Regions from separate parts of the Homo sapiens genome. Here region 1 is linked to region 2. Evidence: promoter capture Hi-C in human tissues and cell types (Jung and others, 2019). All regions are on one chromosome and are shown on one strand. Each heading gives the region's core, a stretch centred on a gene start or on the middle of the fragment in contact. The rest is flanking DNA. Distances are from core to core; before and after follow the strand shown. Region 1 has its middle 22 kb from the start of LINC02204. Region 2 holds the start of UACA (uveal autoantigen with coiled-coil domains and ankyrin repeats).

The links. The method cuts DNA at HindIII sites, captures the fragments that hold promoters and counts their contacts. A contact is called where the count stands out against the background at its distance.
Region 1: a fragment that was not itself captured here is called in contact with the fragment with the promoter of UACA in region 2 in 2 of the 25 tissues and cell types used here (mesenchymal stem cells and mesendoderm cells).

The regions. Positions count from the first base shown.
Region 1 is chr15:70,562,316-70,567,376 of GRCh38, reverse strand. No RefSeq gene overlaps it. Among named protein-coding and RNA genes, the nearest start is that of LINC02204, 22 kb to the left of the region's middle. The HindIII fragment of the contact is 4,641 bases long and covers 1-3,837 here.
Region 2 is chr15:70,760,348-70,764,937 of GRCh38, reverse strand. It overlaps UACA (uveal autoantigen with coiled-coil domains and ankyrin repeats), which reads left to right and starts at 1,380. Exons shown (of 19, transcript NM_018003.4): 1 at 1,380-1,608. The coding sequence starts at 1,531. RefSeq lists a silencer at 1,206-1,615. The HindIII fragment of the contact is 5,114 bases long and covers 1-4,473 here.

The sequences.
Region 1 (5,061 bases), core at 268-2,767, 200 kb after region 2:
TTGGCCTCCCAAAGCGTTGGGATTATAGGCATGAGCCACCGTGCCCGGCCCTCTCATCTTTACGCATAGCCAGAGAAGGATGTGGTTCTTGGCATGGCAGAAGGCCTTGGAGCAGGATGCCGGGCAACTGTGCAGACCAGGCCACGGCTGCCTTGTATACGTGTCACTGGAGCGAAGGCCACGCCGAGGCCAAGGAAGGGAGAAGTCCTGGGAGTCACCCCAAGGTCTTTGTGAGAGGCCCAGGGAAGCTTCCTCATGCACATTCTAAGGTCCCCCAGCAGCACAGGGCCCTGCCCACCACACTCACAAACATGGATCCTGTGGAACACGCTGCAGTGTGAGGCTTGGGTGAGAGGATTGCAATTTTAGCTCTGCCACTTTCTTCCAAAGTCACTCTGAACGAATCCACTTGACCTCTCGGATCTTGTTTCTACATATGTCAAATGGGAATCCTAATTCTCATTTTCCAGGGCTGTTGTGCAAACTGGGGATATGTATTTAAAGTATATCACATGGCCCCTGGGATGTGGCTTAATACCTGCTAACCAATAATCTAGCACAGGGAAACTGAGAAAATATGTTAAATGAGAAGCTATGGTCATCCTGGCAGTTAGTAGCAGAAAGAGCCCAGGCATTTGGAGGCCCAGTCTGATGTTCTTTACCTTTCCAAGCCCTGGAAACCCACATGTGCTCTGCCACCCATTTGCTCTCCCACCCAGCCCCGGGTTCGAGGTGGTGGCTGTCCTCTGAGCTGCGAGGTGTCCAGGTCCGAGCACCAGCTCACTTTCCTCAGGATCTAGCTCTGAGGATTTACAGCCAGGCTGGGCGCCCACTGGAGGTCCCCTTACCTGTAAGTTATTCCACCGGTAATTAGATTTCTTTCTGTTGTGGGAAGCCAGCATGTGTAAATCCACAGAAACCTGTGACCAGATGATATAAGGGTCACCTGAGCCTCCGTGCTGCCTAAAATGCATCTTCCAGGAAAATGATTTCTCTGGGCACATAAGTTACTGCGTTCCCAGGACAACTGTAGCTCAGGCTCTGACCATTCCCGTAATGCTGTGTTCAAGTGATGTAGTGTTCACAGCTCTCTCGGCAGCCCTCTTGCTCCCCTGCTGTCTGAGTGGAGGAGCCTCCAACACTGGCTGTCGCTGGATACAATAAATGGAAAGGGAGGAAGGACGGGGGAGGGAACTGCTTCCTCGGCAGCCCACCTTCCTGCCCAGGCTAGACCGACTCAAGTTCAGAGAGCCTTAGTCCTATAGGGGAGCCACTTGGAGTCTAGAGACACTTTGAGCTATGGCAGAAATCACTATCTACATGCAAAAGGATAAAATCGGGCATCTACCTTGTAATGTGCACAATAGGAAGTCCCAGATAAATTAAAGAACTGCACATTAAAATTATTAACAAACTGTATATGTGTGTGTGTGTGTGTGTGTGTTTTGGGAGGGTAGTGGTGGGGAAAAGGACTTTCTTTTTTTTTTTTTTGAGACGGAGTTTTGCTCTTGTTGCCCAGGCTGGAGTGCAATGGTGTGATCTCAGCTCACTGCAACCTCTGCTTCTCAGGTTCAAGCAATTCTCCTGCTCAGCCTCCTGAGTAGCTGGGATTACAGGCGCCTGCCACCACGCCCTGCTAATTTTTGGTATTTATAGTAGAGACGGAGTTTCACCATGTTGGCCAGGCTGGTCTCGAACTCCTGACCTCAGGTGATCCACCCGCCTCGGCCTCCCGAAGTGCTGGGATTACAGGTGTGAGCCACTGCGCCCGACCAGGCCTTTCTTAATCTAACACCAAACCCAGAAACCACAATAGAAAAGTTTGGCAGATTGGACCACCTAAAAAGAAAAAAACCCAAACTGTATTGTCAAAGGTACCTTAAATAAATCAAAACATAAATTACAGTCTGGGAGAAAGTATTTGCTACATATTCTAGCAGGAAAACTGTGAATGTCCACACTATAGAATGTATTCCTTCAAATTGATCAGAAACAGCAAAAATGGACAAGTGGGCAACACACACACATACACACACACACACACACGTTATATACAACCACTTCATTAAAGAGGAAACAATTACAAGATAGCCTCACTAATGCCTAAAGAAATGTAAATGAAAACAGCAATGCAGCATTAGTTTTTGCTTGTCCAGTTAAAAAGAACTGGTGAGAATGAAGAAATGAACACAACACACACACACTGCTGGTAAAGTGCCACACACCTTCGAAGGGAAATTTAGTAAAAGACGTATCAACCTAAAATGTGCTTACTGAATAATCTGGCGGTCTCTCCTCCAGAAATTTACCCTCCAAAAATTGTAGCATAAATGTATAAAGATATATGTCCAAGGATATTCACTGTATTACTGCTTATTTTAAGAGCCAAGTTTCTAAAAGTTTAAATTTCCATCAAAGAACATGGGTCAGATAAATTAAGGAATATCTAGGCAATGAAATTCTAGTCTCTGAAAGAAATGAGGTAGACTTGTGTAGTAAGAGCTGTTTTCCGAGCATTTGTCTTGTGCTGGGCACTGATGTGAGTGTTTTATATATGTCACCTCATTTAACCCTCTCAACAACTTTATGAAGTAGGCAATGTTGTCATCCACATGATGCACAAGAGGCCCAGAAAGGTTATTAGCCTGCACGAGGTCACACAGCTGTGAGAAGTCAGAGCTGGCATTAGAATGAGGCAGTGGGTTTCCTGAGGCACCCACTTGGAAAGGGTCACAGATAAAGTTTAAATGTTAAGTGATAAAACAGCAAATTGCAGCAAGATGTAGCATAACTGCATTTTGGTTAAAATATATGTGAATGTATATAACCTATATTATTTATATATATGTCTACATTATCAAAAAAATAAAAAGATTAATTTGGTGGTGATGACTGGAGGGGAAGTGGGAATAGATTAGTTTCTTCCAAAAAAGTAGTGAGATTTAAAAAAGAAAACGGCCTTCTCAGTCCTTTGTTTTTATTTATTTTTCATTATCGATTGACTTGAATAAAATAGAAAATGACCCCATCTGGTGATAAGAATACATCCTTGAAAAATAACACCCAGTTTATGCCAGAAACAAAAATCTCAGTTTGGAAGCAGAGCTGAGTTACTATATAGTGGTAGATAAATCACCAAGGCTGCAGTGAGCTATGATCATGCCACTGTACCCTAGCCTGGTCAACAGAGTGAGACCCTGACTCAAACAACAAGAACAACAACAAAATGCGTGATTGAAAAAGTGGCCTATTGCCTCTGTAGACAATGTGGAAGGGGCTGATGGGGTGGACTGGCCATCTTGTCGATTCTAGGAAGCTTCTGCCTCCCATGCCATCCATGCTGCATTTGCTTCTCTCCTGGTTTTCTTCCCAGTATCCTGTTTCCATGACATCCTGCTCCAATCCTCCAAACCCAGAGAGCAACCCTGGTCAGGGATGGGGAGTCACCATACAATTGAAGTGCCCTGACTTGATTAGGGGATGACATAGGAGGCAAGTCCAGGGTGGAGATCCTGGTCCATTTGCTGGTGGCCACGAGATCTATAGCCGCTTGACACACAGGGATGCTCCGGGCATGGCAGGCACCTGGGGCTCTGTGGACTGTCTGGCGCATGCTGCTGGAAGCTCAGAGTAGTTCAGCACAACCTGGCCACAGAGGTAAGTGCTGAAGCTGGAAGGCAGTGGCCACGCCACAGTGGGCCATGAGAGCCATGTAAAGCAGCTTGGACAGGCCTAGGCCAGTGGTTCTCAGTCAAAGGTCATTGCTCCCCATTTTATAATGTCTGGAAATGCTTTTGGTTGTTACAACTGGGGAGGGAGTGCTACTGGTATCTAGTGAGCAGAGGCCAGGGATGCTGCTGAACATCCTGCAATGCACACAAAGTCCCTCTACCACAAAGAATCATCCAGCCCCAGATCTCAGCAGTGCTGAGATTTCAAAACCTGCCCAGATTAGACCTTTCTGCAGCAGAAGGGGGTGAGGGTCCTGACGGTTCCACATCTGGAAGGAAGTTCTTTAGCTGCTGTGCTCAGATTCTGAAGAGAAGCAGATTTCTCCAAGGCCAGGTGGGAAGAGCCAGCTCCATCCTCCCTAGAGGGCTGTGTTTACAAGGAGCTGGCAGGAATTAAGTTCTAATCATGATGAACATTGATACAGTGCTTGGCAGGTGGCAAAGTGCTTCCTCCTGTGCGTGGGTTCCCTACAGACTGGGGTCCTCTACACCACCCCCATATTGTTGGAGGCAGGAGAAGAGACGGGGGAGTGGGGAGACTACACCTACTTCTCATTCTCCCATGAAATGAGTTCCTGTGATAAAACTCTCCATGTTCCCCACTTTGATCCTAACTCTGAATTCAAGCTTTGCTTACTGGAAGCCTTCCCCACCAGATGCCAGGCCAAACACATTCTTTTACCCAATGCCATGGTGAGGCAAAGGGGGGTGAACTTGGCTGGAGCTAGGATATCATAAAGTCAGATGGGTTCAGTGTGGGTTTCACATACCTGATAAAGATAAGGTTGGAGGAAGGGTAGGCAGCGAGATCAGCCAGAGAGGCTGGGCAGGCAGGAGACAGATTGGATACCATGTGTCAGGCAGCTCTTTTTTTTTTTTTTCTTTCTTTTTTTTTTTCTAATTTTGAGATGGAGTGTCACTCTGTTGCCTAAGCTGGAGTACAGTGGCGTGATCTTGGCTTACCGTAACCTCTGATTCCCGGGCTCAAGCGATTCTCCTGTCTCAGCCTCCCGAGTAGCTGGGACTACAGGCATGTGCTACCATGCCGGGGTAATTTTTGTATTTTTAGTAGAGATGGGCTTTCACCATGTTGGCCAGCCTGGTCTCGAACTCCTGACCTCAGGTGATCTGCCTGCCTCGGCTTCTCAAAGTGCTGAGTTTACAGGTGTGAACCACCGTGGCTGGCTGTCAGGCGGTTCTTCTGCAATATTTCACTTGTTTCTCATGGCAGCTCCTTGGAGTGAATTTTATGATCATCCTTATTTTGTAGAGGAGGAATTCAAGCTCAGAAAGGTTAATTGACTTCGCCAAGCTCTTATAACTAGTAAGT
Region 2 (4,590 bases), core at 131-2,630:
GAGACTGGCTGGGAAGCTTCTGTAATAATAGTCCGGGTATGAGGTAATTTTGGCTCTGCAGTGGCAGTGAGAACAGAGTAACTGACCATACACAGACACTTTAAAGAGCCAACAAGAACTAAATGACTGGAGATCTAGAGGAAGGGGGAGGAATCAAAGAAAATTTTCTTCCAAAGATCTAATCAAGATGAAATTTAATAATATTTTTGGGTAGTTAGTTGTTATTTACTTGTTGTATAGGGTTAACACAGTCTTTGAATGCTGCCTCTCCAAGAAATTCTGAAAACTTTCTTACAGTATTTGAAGAAAACCTTGCGTTACTATAAAGAAACTCTAAAGAGAGCAACTGACCTTTCAGACAAAAAAGAGTCCTTTGTTAGTCAGAAAATGTGGACCGTTTGTCTTTTCAAATGGATGCATGCTACGATAAACGTTTTGCTGGGGGGAAAAATGACTCCAAAGAAGACTTTTGAAGATGTCACCCGAACAGCAAATTATTGGGTGCTGAGCACCTTCCTGTTTCTTCATCCTCTTAAATAATTTTTACTAACCCAGATTTCTAGGTAAGATGATTTAACTTCATCGTATACGTTTACATGTAATGTGTTTCTACAGAAAACAAAAAACCTTTTTGAAGAAAAAAGGGCGTAACTTTTTTTGACAACTTAAATCACTGGCTGTGGGAGTCATTTTTAATTGATGGCACCTCTTCTCCTCCCTCCCCGCCCCCATTCCGTCCCTTTGCTTCCAATACGGCGGATTCTTCACTCAACAAATAAACGAGCACGTAACTTGTACTGTAACTTACTATAACGTCTTTCAAGGTCTTTCTTAACTGTACGTTTTTCTGCACAATCAGCACCTTATTTCTTAGAGACTGTTTATTTCTGGAATTTTTGATGCGTGTGGTGGTTTCCAGGCACCAGGATTTGGTAGTAAAACAGGAGACTGAAAAGAAGTTGCTCCTGAAAGCTGTTCTGTGTGCAGGTAACCAAGAGTCATTTCTAAGACCAGACGGAAGGGAAGGAACTTTACTTGGTAAAGAGCGCGTGGGTGGAAAGAGGAGGGGAGTCCGGGAAGATGAGAGGTGGCAAAGGCGGGACCCCGTGCTCTCTCTAGATCTTAAGCTCCGGGTGGGCGGGCGCCGGTGGCCTGGAGCCCGGCCTGCGCGCATCTCCACGCCTCTGGCCGCCCACCTCCTCCGCCCCTTCCCGGGCTAAAGTTCCCAAACTTTTCCTCCAGCTGGGAGAGGAAGGGTGTTACTCAGTTTAAAAGGGAAGTCCCGCCCCATTCCCGCATTCCGATTGGTCGCGGTTTGCCACGCCCCCGCCAGGGCAGCGGGTCAATTGGCTACGGGAGGGGAGCCCCGCCTCAGGCCTGTCGACGTCTGCTGCCCGGGGCCCGCAGGTGGCAGGCAGGTGGGGCTGGTACAGCCCGCGCCGCCTCTGCTGCAGCCGCTGCCGTCTACTCCTTGCGCGCTGGCACTCCGCAGCCTTTAAGGTTCGCGCGGGGGCCAGGCAAGAGTTAGCCATGAAGAGCCTCAAGTCCCGCCTGAGGAGGCAGGACGTGCCCGGCCCCGCGTCGTCTGGCGCCGCCGCCGCCAGCGCGGTGAGTCCCGCGGTCCGGGCTGCGAGGCGCTCCGCTCCGGGAGCAGCGCAGCCCTCCTTTGCTGGCGAGTTCGCGCGCCGCCTTCCTCTGCTTTTCCTCTGCCAGTTCGGCTTCGGCGGCCCTGGCGACTCCTCCCTGAGGCCGGAGACTCCGTCAGCCCAGAGACCCCGGGGATCCTCCCCGCCGCCGCACCCGAGCCTCTACGGGTCTCTTCCCCACCCCTTTCTCCCAAGCCTCCGAACTTCTGGAAGAAACCTCAGTGGGGCGGTTCTGGCCCCCTCCTCCTAAATCCAAAGTTCCTCGATTGGCACCCCTACTCCGCTCTTTCCGTTGACCCCCCCTCGTCGCTCTCCTCTCCCGGCGCTCGCCCTGCTGCCCACGCCCGCTCGGCCGTGTTGGCTCCCCAGTCCCCGGGGCCGGGGCTCGCACCAGGTAGGGCAGGTGGGCAGGGCTGCGCACCCCGCGCCACCGTGCCCGGACTCCGGACCTTCCCCGGGTCTGAGACAGCGTCAAGCCCTGCCGGGCTGGTGGACGTCCCGTGCTGGCCGCTGTCGTTGTCACTGGGAAGTTTGATTCCCCAGCGAGGCAGAGGGAATCGGCTTAGTCGTAAAGACAAAACCCCACAGGGTGGTGACCCTAGAGGTGGTGAAGTTGGGAGGGGTGGTGGTGATGTGGGTTGTGTAAATCGCACCTGTGGGGCGGGATCCGTGCGGGGCTCTTTCGGTGCTGACCTGCAGCGCGGCCTCAGTGTGCGCGCCAAGGAGTAGTCGGGGCCTCTTTAGTTGGCAGGAGAACAGAAATCTTGAGAAACAGCCTGACCGCAGATGTTGTGATTTAGATAATTTGTCACGTTACAAGAATGGCGATATCATCAAAATTCTATATCATTAAAATAAGTGCCACTTACAAAGTCTTGGAAGAGTCGAACGTAAAGGAGTTGTTATGCTCCAACTGCACAGTTACCTAGTTGGGGTAATTAAAATGAACCTTTACAATTCAACGCAGATTTTACCAAATGATTATATTCTTTTTATCAGAATACTAATTAATCTGCTTCTGCTTTTTTGAGTTAATTCAGTTATGCCTTTCTCTCCACCTATATCGAGGATTATTTTACTTGGACATAAAGGAAATTGTGGAGGAACTACCTAGACTTAAATTCCTATTTCAAAAAAAGAGAGTAGATTCAGATGACGTAATTGATGTTCTTTGATAAAGCATGAAGTCGTTTTATAAGCTCATGGAAAACAGAGATTACTTTGTTTCACTTTTTTTTTTAAAAAAAGTAACTGGCAGAAATGTCATTTAGTGATATTGGAGTTCATTACAGTTAAGATTCTACTTCTGTAATGCAAGTTGTGTTTTTAGCCTTATAGAAGATACAAGTTTCTAGATTTATTAGCTTTGTTTTCCCTGGTTGTGTTTGATTTGCACTAAGGATGTAAATCCCACTTGGAGGTTTATATGCCTTAATTTTATCCAGTTTTCTAGAAATGCAGAGTATTTAGTAGGTATTATCAGCATGATAGTTTGCATTTTATACATTTGGAACATAAAGTGCATATCTCTGAGCTTAAATCTTTAGCACTCAATTGAGCGTTCTATTTTTCTCAAAATGACATAATAAAGATAAACATGATATTAACCTATTTATGTAGAAAAAGCAAACATTTCTGTTTAAATATTAGAATAAGTTCTGTACAATTTAAAAATAAAAGCGTAATGAGGAATAAAACTTAGAATGAATTCTGTAAAATTTTAAAATAAAACTGTAGTGATGAATAAAACCAAACCAAGCATTGATAGAATAAAACACATGTACAGGAGAAATAGACCCTTTCTGCTTTTCAATCTATAAACCATAATCCCAGATTTGGTCACATGTATATGTATTTATTGTATGATTGGGCCACCCTTTTTTTTTTTCTTTTTGCCTTTAAAAACAGTTATTTTTTGAATAGGTAATATAGCACATGGTTTAATATTGGAAAGGAATAAAAATATTTACAACAAAATATCGACACCGTGTTTCCCTAACCCCTGCTTCAGCCACCCTGCCCCCACTTCCTGAGGCCACTGATGATACAGTTGCTTGCATGTTCCTCCAGAGAGAGCTTAGCATATACAAGCAAATATGAATATAGTCACCCTTTATAGAAATGCTAGCACACTGTAGCTGCTGTTTCATATCTTGGACTTTTTTTTTTAAAACTGTAAATAGAGGCTCCCCATTCATATCTTTTGCTGTAATGTACAATTCTGTGATTAATATTCATATTTCAAGTGTGTGTCTGTACCTGTAGGATTAATTCCTAAAAGTGAATTGCTGGGTTAAAGGATATGTGCATTTGTAATTTTGAAGGATGTTGTCAAGTTTCCTTTCATGCATCATGGAACCAGCATATGAGAAATGTTTTCCAAGCTTTTAATAGAAGTCTGTTCAAAGTTTTTGACCTTTGCTAGCCTGATAGGTAAGAACAGTTTATCCTTTCCATTTTTCTTTTTCTGTTTTTTTTTTTTTTTTGAGACGGAGTCTCGCTCGGTCGCCAGGCTGGAGTGCAATGGGACCATCTTGGCTCATTGCAACCTCCGCCTCCCAGGTTCAAGTGATTCTCCTGCCTCAGCCTCCTGAGTAGCTGGGACTACAGGCGTGCACCACCACGCCAGGCTAATTTTTGTATTTTTAGTAGAGACAGGGTTTCACCATGTTGTCCAGGATGGTCTCAATCTCTTGACCTTGTGATCCACCCGCCTCGGCCTCCCAAAGTGCTGGGATTACAGGCGTGAGCCACTGCGCCTGGCCTGTCCTTTCCATTTTTCTATTGGGTTGTCGATATTTTTCCCTATTCATTTGTATATACTTTATATCAGGGAAATTAGCCCTTTTCATTTGAATAATATTATTTCTTAATTGGCTGTTTGTCTTAAGACATTTTTATGGTGGCATTTGCTGTGCAGAGAAGGTGGTTATTTTTATACAAT